Regions from separate parts of the Homo sapiens genome. Here region 1 is linked to region 2. The links are contacts of gene promoters, found by promoter capture Hi-C in blood cells and fetal thymus (Javierre and others, 2016). All regions are on one chromosome and are shown on one strand. The core of a region is centred on a gene start or on the middle of the fragment in contact, and the rest is flanking DNA. Distances in the headings are between cores, read along the strand shown.

Region 1 (6,783 bases), core at 3,378-5,877, 2.2 Mb before region 2:
AGTTATAATTGTTTCTTACCTCTGAGAATTTTATGTTATTTAAATTTTTTTTTCTGTTTCCTGCATTATCTCTATTTCCTTCAAATTCCCTTTAATTTTCTGCTTTTTCATTTCATGCTAGAGGCTTTCTTTTAATGTCTGGTAACTTAGAGTAGTCCATTCATATTTAAAAATGAAGTGCTAACAAGTGAGTTGGAAGCACTATGTGTATGTGGGCAGGGATGGTCAACTGGTGAGCCTCACTCTGAGAGACTTGGCCACTTCACTGGGGTCCTCTAAATGTCAGAAATTATAGATCCTTTCTCTCGGGCTGGTCAGCTTCCTCAGGAAAGAACTATCTATCTTTTTCTGTGAGCAGTAGGGTGATATAAGCCTCGAAGCCCCAAGAGGGAAGATGGAGCAGGAGGTAAATCTTCTCATTAAGCCATGTAGATTTTCACTTACTTCCCTGTTTTCAGTAAGATGCCGCATTCCCACACTCAGACTTAGTGGCCCCCATGCTAGAGACTCTTACTTAACCTTGCCAGAGAGTAAAACTCCTGTTTTCTGCAGGGGAGGGCAGGGCAGGCCTCCCAGCTTTGAGGGCTGAGGGAGATTTGAAGGCTGAAGACTTCATATGGTCTTTAAACATGTTTTCAGTTCAACCCAGAATTAAAGAGCTACCTGGTACCCCAATGTCTGAGCTATTCTGGAGTTCTAAGGCACAAATATTCTTGCTGGCTTCCCTACTTCAGCAACGTGAAAATCACAGAAACAAAGGCAGTTACCTCTCACCTATCACAATCCACTTTCCAAAATGTGGTTGATATCTCTTTTCTGCTATACTATTGTTTCTGTGGTTTGTATCTTCAGTTTTTTTTTTTTTTCCTGTAGGGTCATTTTAACAAGATTTTTGGAGGAAATGGATGGAGATAAACATGTGTGTTCATGCTACCATCTTTAATTAGAGATGTATCAATAGCGATCTTTAAAAAGCTTTCAATTTCTATATGGCTATTCATGAATTTTAAGAGAACAAATATTTAAGATTTGGGTAGGTTTAAGAAATGATATGACTCCTCAAAACAGCATTAATTATATCCTCATTTAAGAAATATATTAAACTTACTTTTGAGGCCAATAGGTTAAACCTAAAGAGTTTAGCCAAGATTCAGGAATAAAGGCCCACACGAGGTAAAGTACTGTAGAAAAGAAAAAGAAAAAAAAGAGGAAGAGAAGTCAGTAAGACATACATCTAATCTATCAATCTATTAAGATTCAGATAAAACAGAAAAGCTCTTTTGAAGTGTCCCTGATTAACTCAGAAATGATTTTTTCCTCCTTTCAGTTCTTCTAGCTCGTTTGCACAATTCTTATAATACTTATAATTACTGTATTAGTCTTTTTTTTTAATATCTTAACTCACATTATATTTTAAGCAATTCAAGGATACAAATCATGGCTTAGCAATTGTTGTAATCCTTATTACCTAGCAGTTTGCTTTAGGTACAGTAAGTGTTCAATACTTCATCCCCACAAGGTTGAAGTAATTATAGACATTTAATTGCTCAAAGGGAAATTTACCTACCCTAGTTCTCATCCACCACATACTGAGCTTCTGCCCTATCTCCCAGAGTACAATGTTATTTCCCTCAATCCGAAATCTCGGCACTCTTTACTGTTATCCCACGATAACAACAATGGCTAAGTTCTGAGCACTCACTGTGGGTTAAGCACAGTTCCAAGCATTCTGTATGCATTAAGATAATCCTCCAAGACAATCCTCCAAGGCAAGTATGCAATTTTAAATGATGAGGAAATGGAAGCTTAGAAAGGATACATCACCTACCCAAGGTAAGCGGCAAAGATAAATTTTAACTACCTACTACATCAGTGATGATGCATTCTTTTCTTAACAAATATGTATTACAGAATTCTGTATGTCAGGTGTGTGAGACACAATATTGAATCCAAAAGAGATGGCTTCTGCCCTCCCTAAACTTAAAATCTAGTGGTGAATAGAGAAAATTGGTATTTTCACTACATTGTTACAAGTGCTCACGAATGAGTAATAAAAGATGACATAGAAGCACATTAGAAGGCCCTCCTTCCACTTCGTATCCTCCTTCCCTTTGCTTAATTTCTCCCCATAGTACGTTATCACCTGATACTATATACGTTTTTCTTATTTAACTTGCCCATTGACTATCTCCCCCCGGCATGAGAATGAAGACTCAAAGCAGGGCATTTTTGGCTGTTTTGGTCCTTCCTGGCCTGTAACAGTGCCTGGCACATGGTAAGCACCAATAAATACTTGAATTACTTTTTGGTTGTGGGTATGATGGAATTTAATTTTGTTTTGAGACAGTTTCGCTCGTTGCCCAGGCTGGAGTGCAAAAGTGCAATCTCAGCTCACGGCAACCTCCGCCTCCCGGGTTCAAGCGATTCTCCTGCCTCAGCCTCCCGAGTAGCTGGAGTTACAGGCATGCGCCACCATCCCGGCTAATTTTGTATTTTTAGTAGAGACAGGGTTTTTCCATGTTGGTCTGGCTGGTCTCAAACTCCCGACCTCAGATGATCTGCCTGCCTCGGCCACCCAAAGTGCCGGGATTACAGGCGTGAGCCACCAGGCCGGCCAGAATTTAAGCCTTAAAGTGATTGCTTTTATTTATTCATATAGCTTCTAATCCTTGACATACTCTTTGAACAAGGATTTACAAAAGTGCTAACAATAACATCAGTAGCTAACACTTATTAAGTCCCTAACTGTTCCTAGGCATTATTTTACGTGCTTTACATAAATTACCCCCGTTAATCCTCACAACAGTCAGAAGAGGCAGCAGAGTGAAGTCAGCCAGTGTATTTGGGTTCAAATTTAGAAGGCTTTTATTTAGTAGCTTTGCAATCTTGAGCAAGTTACTGAAACCACAGGATGCTCATCTTTAAAGGACAGTAATAACAGAACCTACCCCATAGAACTGTTTCATGCGTCATAAGCATTTAATAACCATCATTATCACTACCCTTTTACAGATAAGGAACCTGAGGCTCAAAAAATTTGCTGAGGGTCCCAGCTCACATGGCTAATCTGTGGAGGAGTCAGAATTCGAACTCAGTTGTAACTTCTTCACTTCACTTCAGTTTTAATAGCCTGGCCATTACATTCATCTGCAAGCTGTGCTGATGGTGCAGGCTGATATATTTTAGTTAGGGTTCAGAAGTACTACCACTCCTCCACTTTCCTGGTTTCCAAACAGTTGCAGAACGTTGGATCACGGGCACTCAATTTTCTCCCTTTTGTGTGCCTCAAAATTCTCAAATCATTTTGGGGAGAGACTTGGGACTTGCTGTGTGAGTGGGCATATTAGTGTCTTAGTGAGCATCAGTCTCCTTATCTGTAAAATGGAATGTTATGGGGTTAAATTAAGGGAGATCCAGGACGCAAACGACACACCTTTCAACCCGACTTCTCTGGCCTACTTCTCCTGTTCCCCAGATCCCGCAGGGCACACTGGTGACATCACAAGCTCCTCGGGTCCAAACCCTCTCACGCCCTCATTCAAGGCCTTTCCACTTCTTCCCTCCCTCTTACTCTTTCCTAATCAGCATCAGTGCCAGGGGGAAAGGCCTCTGTAGAAAGCCTTGACTTTCCAGTCTGGTTTCAATGTCTCTCCACCGTGCTCCCTGACACTCATCACACTGAGCATTAACTGTAGATTTACCCATCTGTCTCCTCCACAAGACCACGACCTCCTTAAGGGCAGGGACCAGGCTTTATCCACTTTGCCATCGCGTCTGGTGCTGTATAAATATTTGTAGAGACTAAAACCTCCTAGGCTAGTGCTGGCACACGGAACACTCAGCAAACACGAGATCCCTTCAGATTTTCTTAAAAAGAGACATAGGGAGAAAGAATCAACAGTTCATGTGTGCACAGTCTAACCAATGTATTCTTCCCTTGTCACTGAACGCCAGAAAAAGCCCCTGGCCATCCATCAGGAAAGTACTTACTGAAGCCAAATTGGGAGCTTAAGAAAAGAACAAAGCCATAAATCGCTCTTTCTGGCAATGGCGACGGTGAATTTTCCACCATTTTTCCTGGGGCTTTAGACAATCTGTGGAAAAGGAACACAATCAGCGTCAGCGATGTGCTCCGTGGCACCATTGATCCATTCTCGCCTCCTCGCTCCGCCGCGGGTACGGCCCCCGCCGCGCAGAACCGCCTCCCGCGCCTCCGTCCGCAACCCGCGCCCCCGCCTCGAGCGCATACAGACACCCAGGCTGGCGCGCGCCCCGCAACAGAAGGGGTGGCGGAGGATAGGGCAGGGAGGGGGGTTCTGGGGCGATAGACGCGCGCTCCAGCTCTGCAAGCGTGGCCTCCCTGTGGGAGGGGAGGGCAGGGAACAAGGCTCGCGCGGCGCCCACCAGCATGCGGGCCTACTAGGTCGCGGCGCCCAGGCCCCGGGCCCTGCCCATTCGTGGAGACTTCTATTTCTCATTCGAGGCGGGGTATGGGGGGGCCCTCGACCTCGGGTCCTTCATACGCCCACCCAGGCCCCTCCCGACACCTCGGCCACCTCAGCGCTGAGTTCTCCGCGCAAGCGCCGACTGGGGAGCCGCAGTGGGGAAGAGGAAAACCTGAGGGAAAGGCCTAGGCGCGACGGCAACCCCCACCCTGGCGCAGGCGCACAACGACCCTCCCCGGGTGGGAGCCAGCGAGCGCGGGGGCGGGCGTGATCCCGCGGCTCGCGACGGCGAAGGAGGGGGCGGTGGGGTGCGACTGCGCACGCGCGCTGCCAGCCCACGTGACGCACCTCGCTTCAACGCCGCCACCCGCTCCCTCCCGCCGTCGGCTGACGTGGAGGGCCGGAGGTGGCGGCGGCGGCGGCGGCGGCTGCTGCTGCTGCTGCCCGCGTCCGAGGCTCGCGGGCGGCGGGCCCGGGTGAGTGCACACCCGGCGCGCTGCCGGGCTCCCGGATGTGTCACCTTGTCCCGCTGCAGCCGAGATGCCGGGGGAGCGGGGCCTTCCACACCCCCTCCGTGGGTGTGTGGTGAGTGTGGGTGTGTGCGCGTCTCCTCGCGTCCCTCGCTGAGGTGCCTACTGTGTCTGCATGGGTTGGGTCCCGCGCGATGAGGGGGTGTGGCCGCCATTGCCTACCCCAGTGGGTTTGCCCCCTTGGTCTGGTGCCCCTTCGCGAGCGAGGCCCTGGGATGCCGGTGCGAGGGTGTGAGTAGTCCCTTTGTGCGCAACCCCCCGCTGCCCGTGCCTCGGCCGGTGCGTGGCTGACACCTCCGCTGGGTGGAGGCGCTCGCGTGTCGCCTCGTCGCCCCTTTTGTGTCGGTGTCCGCGCTCCCTGGCGGCTGCGTGGGCGCTCTCGGCCTTGCAGGTGGCCCCCCTTTGTGTTACTGCCCCTGTCTGTGGGCTGCGCGTCCCCTAGCGCGCGTGGCCGCGCCTTCTGCAATTGCGACCCCCGCCTAGAGCCTTGCTCGCGCAAGTGTGCGTCCTTGCGTGTCTCCGAGTGACGCAGAGTGTCTGCGCATGGGTCCTGTTGAGTGCGTGATCTCTTGTGTGCGGATTTAATTCTGTCGAGTGGGTATCTCTTGTGTGCAGGTTTCGTTGGTGAGCGTGAACGTTCGTGCACACCCCTTGCTGTGTGTGCGTGTCACGACTCTGTTGCCACCTGTTTTCGTGTGAACTGGCAGTCCAGTCCAGGGCCTGTCCCCACGGAACGGACCCAGGAGGGGGGTAACCTCGCCGCTCCCCTCGCCCCCGCGCCTCTTTCTGAGCATTCTCTCCCACAGACGCTAATGGGAAGGGGGGTGGACAGGATCGAGTCTGGCCAGCTGCTCCGCAGTGTTGACGCTGCCAGTGTGGCCTCTTCAGCCAGCCTGTTCAGGAGACAGAATAGGGGGATCAAAGATAAAAAATGAAGCCGAGACGTAGGTGAATTTGGGCTGGTACCAGTGCGCCGTGCCTTTTCCAGTGGCGCCCTGGACGCCAAAACCCCCTCAGTTGCAGAGACCTTTCAAAATATATGCACTCTCCTACTGGGCGATGCGGTCCTTAGGCGTTCTTGATGATATTTAATGGTTTATAGAGTATTTTATGGCATTCACCTAAATCTCTTTCCATTTTGCCCAAGATCCTGGCGAGGGAAACAAGGTAGAAATTTTACAGATTTTACTCCTCCGGAGAGAGCCTTTTCCTTATAACTACGACTCTAGTTAGGACATTTTTTGTTGCAAGAAATTTGCGATTTATCCTAAGGAAAATGGGATATAGTATAAGGATACCTAGGGTAAGAAACTTCAAACCCCTTAGAGACCCAGCTACTGCTCCGATTGCTCAAGGTTTCGTGCTCTGCGCTCAAGGGCTGCGTTTTGGTGTCTTTGTTCTGCCCAATTTTCTTATTGTCTAATTTTCCTTTTTTTCTTTTAATTTTTGGAATATTTCAGATATCAAATACAGAGGGGGAGCTAACCAATCCATGATTCAGATTTTACAGACGTGATTATTTAATCTTTTGCCAAATTTACTTCAGATACTCTTTTTTTTTAAAGAAATAAAATTGCTCTCAGTTCCTTCCCCTCCTTTTCTAGAGATAGCCACTGCGTTGAGGTTTGTGTATATCTTTACTTTGCATATTTTATACTTTGATCAAGGTGAATCCATACACAATATATATTATTGTTTGTTTTTAAACTTTAATGGCATTAAAATATACATGCCTTTTTGCAACTTGCTTTTTTTTTTTTTGCTCAGCATCATATTTTGAGGTTTATATATGAACAAATTGAATGATT
Region 2 (6,353 bases), core at 65-2,564:
GGCTCGGCTGGATCCATCCAAGCATGGACAGGAAAACGGGACTGTGGGGAGAGGGTGGTGCAGACGGGCCGCAGACCCTCCTTAGGAAGAGAAGCCGGAAACTAGGGAGTCATGTGCAGTTAGAATCCTCTTGGAAGACTAGTAGGATGTGAGGTTGGAGAGGTGGACGACGACCAGAAAATTCCCTTGTCTTGCCAGGCTTCTGACCTAACTATGAGTTTCCTCCGCGCATCCAGCCTGCCCTGCTCTGGCCCCTAAAGTACAGCAGTAACACTCAGTGGTGTCCCTGCCTTCCTGGAATGCGCGTTAACAATTCTGATTCTTACTCATGGCAATAACCTACACACCACATAGACGTTAAATGTGGTTCGGGTCAGACTCTAGGGCAGGACTCACTGCCTGCACCTTGTCTTGGCTCCACCAGCTTGACCTTGAGCAAGTCACAACCTGTGGGTCTCAGTGTTCCTTACTAGTAAACCGTAGGTAATTCCTCACTAGTAAACAGATAATATTTGTGCCTGTCTCAAAGTTGTGAGGATTTAATGAATTTGTGTTCCTGGTATACAGTAAGCACCGTGTACAAGTTGGCTTTTATTTACACCAAATAGCAAAAGCTTTTATTTATTTTGAGACAGGGTCTTGCTCTCAGGCTGGAGTGCAGTGGCGCGATCTCACCTCACTGCAACCTCTGCCTCCCGGGTTCCAGCGATTCTTGTGCCTCAGCCTCCCGAGTAGCTGGAATTGCAGGCAAGCGCCACCACGTCCGGCTAATTTTTATATTTTTATATTTTTAGTAGGGACGGGTTTCACCATGTTGGCCAGGCTGGTCTCGAACTCCTGGCCTCAGGTGATCCACCCGCCTTGGCCTCCCGAAGTGCTGGGGATTACATGCATGAGCCACTGCGCCTGGCCAAAAGCTTTTATATATATTTATAAATGGACATAGATATCTGTGAGGCTGTCGGGTATGGTGGCTCACGCCTGTAGTCCCAAGCACTTTGGGAGGCCGAGGCAGGCGGATCACGAGGTCAGGAAATCAAGACCATCCTGGCCAACATAGTGAAACCCCCGTCTCTACTAAAAATAAAAAAATTAGCCAGGTGTGGCAGTGCGCGCCTCTAGTCCCAGCTACTTGAGAGGCTGAGGCAGGAGAATCGCTTGAACCCCGGAGGCGGAGGCTGCAGTGAACCGAGATCGCGCCACTGCACTCCAGCCTGGGCGACAAGGCGAGACTCCGTCTCCAAAAAAAAAAAGCTATTTGTGAGGTAACAATCTAAATATGTTTGAGCTAGTGCAACAGTAAGTTAACTCCTTACATCTGTTAATTCAGCAAGCACTAACAAGTGATGGAGATTAAAAAAAAAAAAGGAATGAGCCACAGCTTTGCCATCAAAGACTTCAGCGTCTCTTAGGGGAAACAGATGTAAGCAAATAATGACACGATTTAGGGCAGAGATATATCAGAAGATCAGCTTGCCTGTGCGTGGGGGAAATGTTAGGGAAGTTTGGGTTATCCAGGCTACAATGTGTGGAAAGGGATTTCGCACATACAAACAACAGAGGGCCAAGACATGAATATGATTTCTAGTTTAAGGAACCAGAAGTTTAGTATGACTACTTGGGGTGACTTTGGAGAGGATGGGACCATGATGTCAGAAGTTGAAATTGGGAGCAATTGAAAGATTCTAAGCCAGGAAGGAATCATTTTCTATTTTAGGATGGATTTGAGAAAGTTAAGACCAAGAGGCACTTAACATACCCCTGAAATAGAAAAGAAATGATGCATGAGGGCGTTGGTCATAAGGATAGAGAAGAGACAAGATCAGAAGTATGTAGGACAGTAAATCTGCAAGATGAAGTTGGGGTGAAATAAAAACCACAAAAATCTCGTTTGGGGCTTTCCAAGGTTGTGCCAACAAATAAGGTAGGGCATACAGGCTGGTAGCTAGATTGTTAAGATGAGTAACTGCTTGCAACAACTTGATTATTTGAAGTTACAGTGCATAGATGACTGTGGGACAGTGATCTGATGCTGCAAGATTACCAGTGTTACCAAATGACAAAGACATCAAGAGGGGAGAATTTAAACTTTCAATGATTGACCAAGGAGTTGTGCATTTCATTTTGTAACAAGGGCGTAAGATTAAAAACCCCCTAAAGATATTACAAGAATTTATATCCCAAGCTCTGGTCATTGTCCAAAATTATCGTTCTGATACTGGCACCATGATAACCATTACAAGAGATCAGAAATGATGACACGAGCCCAGACACAGTGGCTCACACCTGTAATCCCAGCGCTTTGGGAGGCCAAGGCCAGAGGACTGCTTGAGCCCAGGAGTTCGAGACCAGCCTGAGTAACATAGTAAGACCCCATCTCTACAAGAAATAAAAAATAGCCAGGGGTGGTAGGTGTGTACCTGTAGCCCCAGCTACTTAAGAGGCTGAGGCATGAGAATGGCTAGAGCCGGGGGGGATTGACGCTGCAGTGACCCATGATCACAGCACTGCTCTCCAGCCTAGGCAGCAGAGCAAGACCCTGTCTCAAAAAAAAGACACGATGACATGAGTTTTCCTTTACAAGAGCCTTGGGAGTCCTTTTACAACTTACTATCACATTCATGACAAATATTCTTTCTAAATTTTGAATAGGAACAAAGATTTCTAACAAGAGAGAGAATATCTTCCCGATTCGACTCCCATATGTCAAGAGACTCAGATGTGACTCATATTTGCCTGCCAGGAGGAGGAAAAAGAAATACACTGTCCAGGAGCAACTCCTTAGTGGGTACCCACCAGAAGTGGTCTCCAAACAAGGCAAGAATCTGTGTATTCCTCACACAATTCAATCCCAGCCATTCCATATGTACACACTGAGGTTTGCTTTTGGGTAAATGGAAATAACTTTAGAGTTTCACCACAAGAAAGCTACATGGTAAGCAAGTGTTGGAAAATCTTAACAGTGGGTGACATTAAGCTATAGGGTTGCATTTTCAAGGGAACCAACATCTTATGCCGTGGCAAGCAACTCCTGACTGGATAAACAGCTCTTAGATGTCATTGATAGGCTCAAGCTGAGGCGCAGAGGAAGTATGGCCCAAGGGCATATAGCTGGTAAGTGGTGGCTGGACTGCAATCCCAAGTAGACAGTATTATCTTAGACTGAAACACAAACACTGCAAAGTCCATTCTCCCTTGGCCACGTTTCACAAAAGAGGAAATGGGACCTGAAAATTAGGAGACTTACACAGGATTGCACAGCTAGCGCATCAGAGAGCTGACATTTGGAAGCCCACGTGATAAGTACGTGTGTAATCTCATTTACCGCAGGCAACTCTTAGATTCTGTTATTCCCATTTTAAGAATGAGGAAACTAGTCTGGGCGTAGTGGCTCTCGTCTGTGCTATCAGCACTTTGGAAGACCAAGGCAGGAGGACCGCATGAGCCCAGGAGTTCAAGGCTGGTCTTAAACATAGTGAGACCCTCTCTCTACAAAAAATTAAAAACTTAGTCCATGCATGGTGTTGGGTGACTGTAGTTTGAGCTATTTGGGGAGACTGAGGCAGGAGATCACTTGAGCCCAGGAGTTTAAGGCTGTCACAAGCTATGGTGGTACCACTGTGCTCCAGCCTGGGCAACAGAGCGAGACCCTGTCTCAAAAAAGAATGAGGAACTAAGGCTAATAAAGTTTAAGAATTTGCCTAAAAATGGAAAGCTTTTTTTTTTAATCTGTCTGTGAATGAGAGGAAAATAAAATTCAGTAAGGCCTTCCAAATCACCACTTAGGAAGCCCAACAACGTTAAATATGAATGCATATCTAGAAAATGGTGACCAAAGAAGTCTGGTTCCAACAATTCACATAAGAGAGTGGTCAAAATGGAATGAATTAGTAGATTAGAGTCCATTTCAAAAGACTCTGAAAAATGAGATAAGGAAATCTGTGAGCAATGGAGAACATGCAAAACAACTCAGATACCTAATCCAAAGCCTAATATTAGTTTTAATGCAAATTTGTGTTAACTGAATTTAGGTTCATTCAGGAGGCTGTGCTGATGTTGATGTACACACAACATCAGCATACCTCTGAAGGGCAGGAAGTAGATGACGTTGGACCTCCAGAACACTATACCACAAACTGGATCAGCACCTAGAGGTGAAATTAAATGCACACAAAAACCTGGATCACTTCATTCATTCATTCAACAAAATATGTGTTAAAAGTCTTCCCTGGCTCCTGGGCTGTTTTTTGTTTTGTTTTTTTCCGCTTTAGAGACAGTATGTCATTCTGTCACACAGGCAGGAGTGCAGTGGTACAGTCAGAGCTCACTGCAGCCTCGCAGTCCTACCGCTGAGTACTTGAGACTACAGGTGTGCACCACCATGCCTGGCTAATTTTTTACTGTTTTTTAGAGATGCGGGTCTTGCTCTGTTGCCCAGGCTGGTCTCAAACTCCTGGCCTCAAGTGATCCTCCCGCCTTGATCTTCCTGGACTTCTGTTGGATAAATTCCCTAGGAAGAGGAGAGTTAACACTTCGATAGATTTTATTTATTTATTTATTTTTTAGAGACAGGGTCTCACTGCATTGCCTGGCCTTAAGTGACCCTCCTGTCTTGGCCTTCCAAAGTGCTGGGATTACAGGCGTGAGCCACCACACCTGGACTTTGATCGATTTTTGGAGGACTTTCAAAGTAAAAATGAAGAAGGTATCTGATCTTTTGATAAGCCCTTAGTCACTAGTAGATATTATATTGCATTTAATTCCTGATGCCCTTCCTCCACCTACTAGTGGTGTCATCTTTCCCACAGGACCTTTTCTTCCTTTTAAGTCTAACCCAACCAGCTGTCCCCTTAATGCTACTTGTCCCTGCCTTCCTCAGCAAATTGTTTCCACATTTATCTCTTCCCTCTCCAACTTCTGCCTCTCCCTTGCCATTGGCTTCTGTCCTATTTGTTCCCAGCTTGCAGGCGCTGGCCCATGTCTGTCTCCAAGTCTTACTCGTTCTTACTTTGAAACATTTCTCACAGCACTAGAGAAAACACAGTGTGGTTGGACAAGACCTTGGGAACATGGGAGCTGGGATCAGAATGTGTCTGTGTTTGGATGTCGGAGTTGGGCAACCTCTTGGCTCGGATATTTTTCTGTTCGTTTTGTTTAATAATCTTTAAAATAAGCATGACAACTAATAACATTTATTGGATATGTTTGTATGCTGGACACTGTCCTAAATCATTTCCATGCATTATTTAAGGATCATGAGACAGCTAGAGGTGTTTGTGAGCATTTCCAGAGAGCATGCCTGTGAAGCTCGCTGAACAATGCCCAGCTCTCAACATGACCCTGTTATATAAGAATAATTCTTTTTCTCTCCATTCCCACTTAGTTCAGGCCCTCAATCATCAACAAGCATCCTCCTTAAAGTTCTCCCTGACTCTCCACCTAATTAATCCTGTCATTTTATTTTTTTCTTTTCATTTATTTATTTTTATTTTCTTTGCCACTTCTGTATCTTCTTTGGAGATAATCCTGTCACTACTTTTAAAAACCTTAAGTGCAACTTAACATATTGCTTCCCTGTTCACGTCTTTCTCATTCGCTGTCACCTCAAACCCAAACTCCTTGGCTTGCTTTTAACACTGTGGAGGACATTCTACTCTCCTCCCTCCCTGCTCCACACCCAGGAAAGATGACTGTGCAGTAAAGCCATGGCTCGCTTGCCCTTGAGTTTCCAATGGGATTCATCTGGTAAGAGGCCTCAGCCAGAGATGGAAGGGTGGGAGGAGAGTGAGGTTGGAGTTTCCATTTTCCCAGCTCCTTTCCTGCCAAGCCACAGGTTGATAGTAACTGCTATTTGTGTGCATATAGAGACCCTCTCTTTGCACATAGAGACCCTCTCTGGGCTTTAAGACCACTGCCTCCCCTGCCCCTTAAGGAGTTGGGCTTCCCTTTTTTTTCTTGTTGAAACAGTGTCTCAGTCTGTCATCCAGGGTGGAGTGCAGTAGTGCAATCACGTCTCACTGCAGCCTCGATCTTTCAGGCACAATTGATCCTCCCACCTCTGCCTCCCAGGTAACTGGGACTACAGGCACCCACCACCACAACTGGCTAGTTTTTGCATTTTTTCTACAGACGGGGATTCACCATGTTGTCCAGGTTGGTCTCGAACTCCTGGGCTCAAGCAATCCTCTGGCTCAGCTTCCCAAAGTGCTAGGATTATAGGTGTGACTACCATACCCAAGCCGTTAATCTCTTTTCAAAAACCTTAGAGTCATATCTTTTTTTTTTTTTTTTTTTTTGAGACAGAATCTTGCTCTCTTGCCCAGGCTGGAGTGCAATGGCATGATCTCGGCTCA

The links. Contacts are between HindIII fragments. The CHiCAGO score rates a contact against its expected background, and 5 or more counts as called.
Region 1: the fragment with the promoter of PIGP here is called in contact with the fragment with the promoter of BRWD1-AS1 in region 2 in 2 of 17 cell types (monocytes and erythroblasts); the score reaches 14.6 in monocytes.

Annotation. Positions count from the first base shown.
Region 1 is chr21:37,068,444-37,075,226 of GRCh38, forward strand. PIGP (phosphatidylinositol glycan anchor biosynthesis class P) reads right to left here and starts at 4,628. Exons shown (of 5, transcript NM_153682.3): 1 at 4,557-4,628; 2 at 3,991-4,094; 3 at 1,109-1,181. The coding sequence starts at 4,072. It overlaps TTC3 (tetratricopeptide repeat domain 3), which reads left to right and starts at 4,811. Exons shown (of 46, transcript NM_001330683.2): 1 at 4,811-5,030. RefSeq lists silencers at 4,099-4,378, 4,619-4,938, 5,159-5,218 and an enhancer at 4,526-4,820. The HindIII fragment of the contact is 9,103 bases long and covers 1,804-6,783 here.
Region 2 is chr21:39,314,393-39,320,745 of GRCh38, forward strand. It overlaps BRWD1-AS1 (BRWD1 antisense RNA 1), which reads left to right and starts at 1,315. Exons shown (of 3, transcript NR_046655.1): 1 at 1,315-1,423; 2 at 2,653-2,817. BRWD1-AS2 (BRWD1 antisense RNA 2) reads left to right here. Exons shown (of 1, transcript NR_111942.1): 1 at 1-523. It also overlaps a transcript of BRWD1 not described here. RefSeq lists enhancers at 33-728, 729-1,423. The HindIII fragment of the contact is 2,798 bases long and covers 916-3,713 here.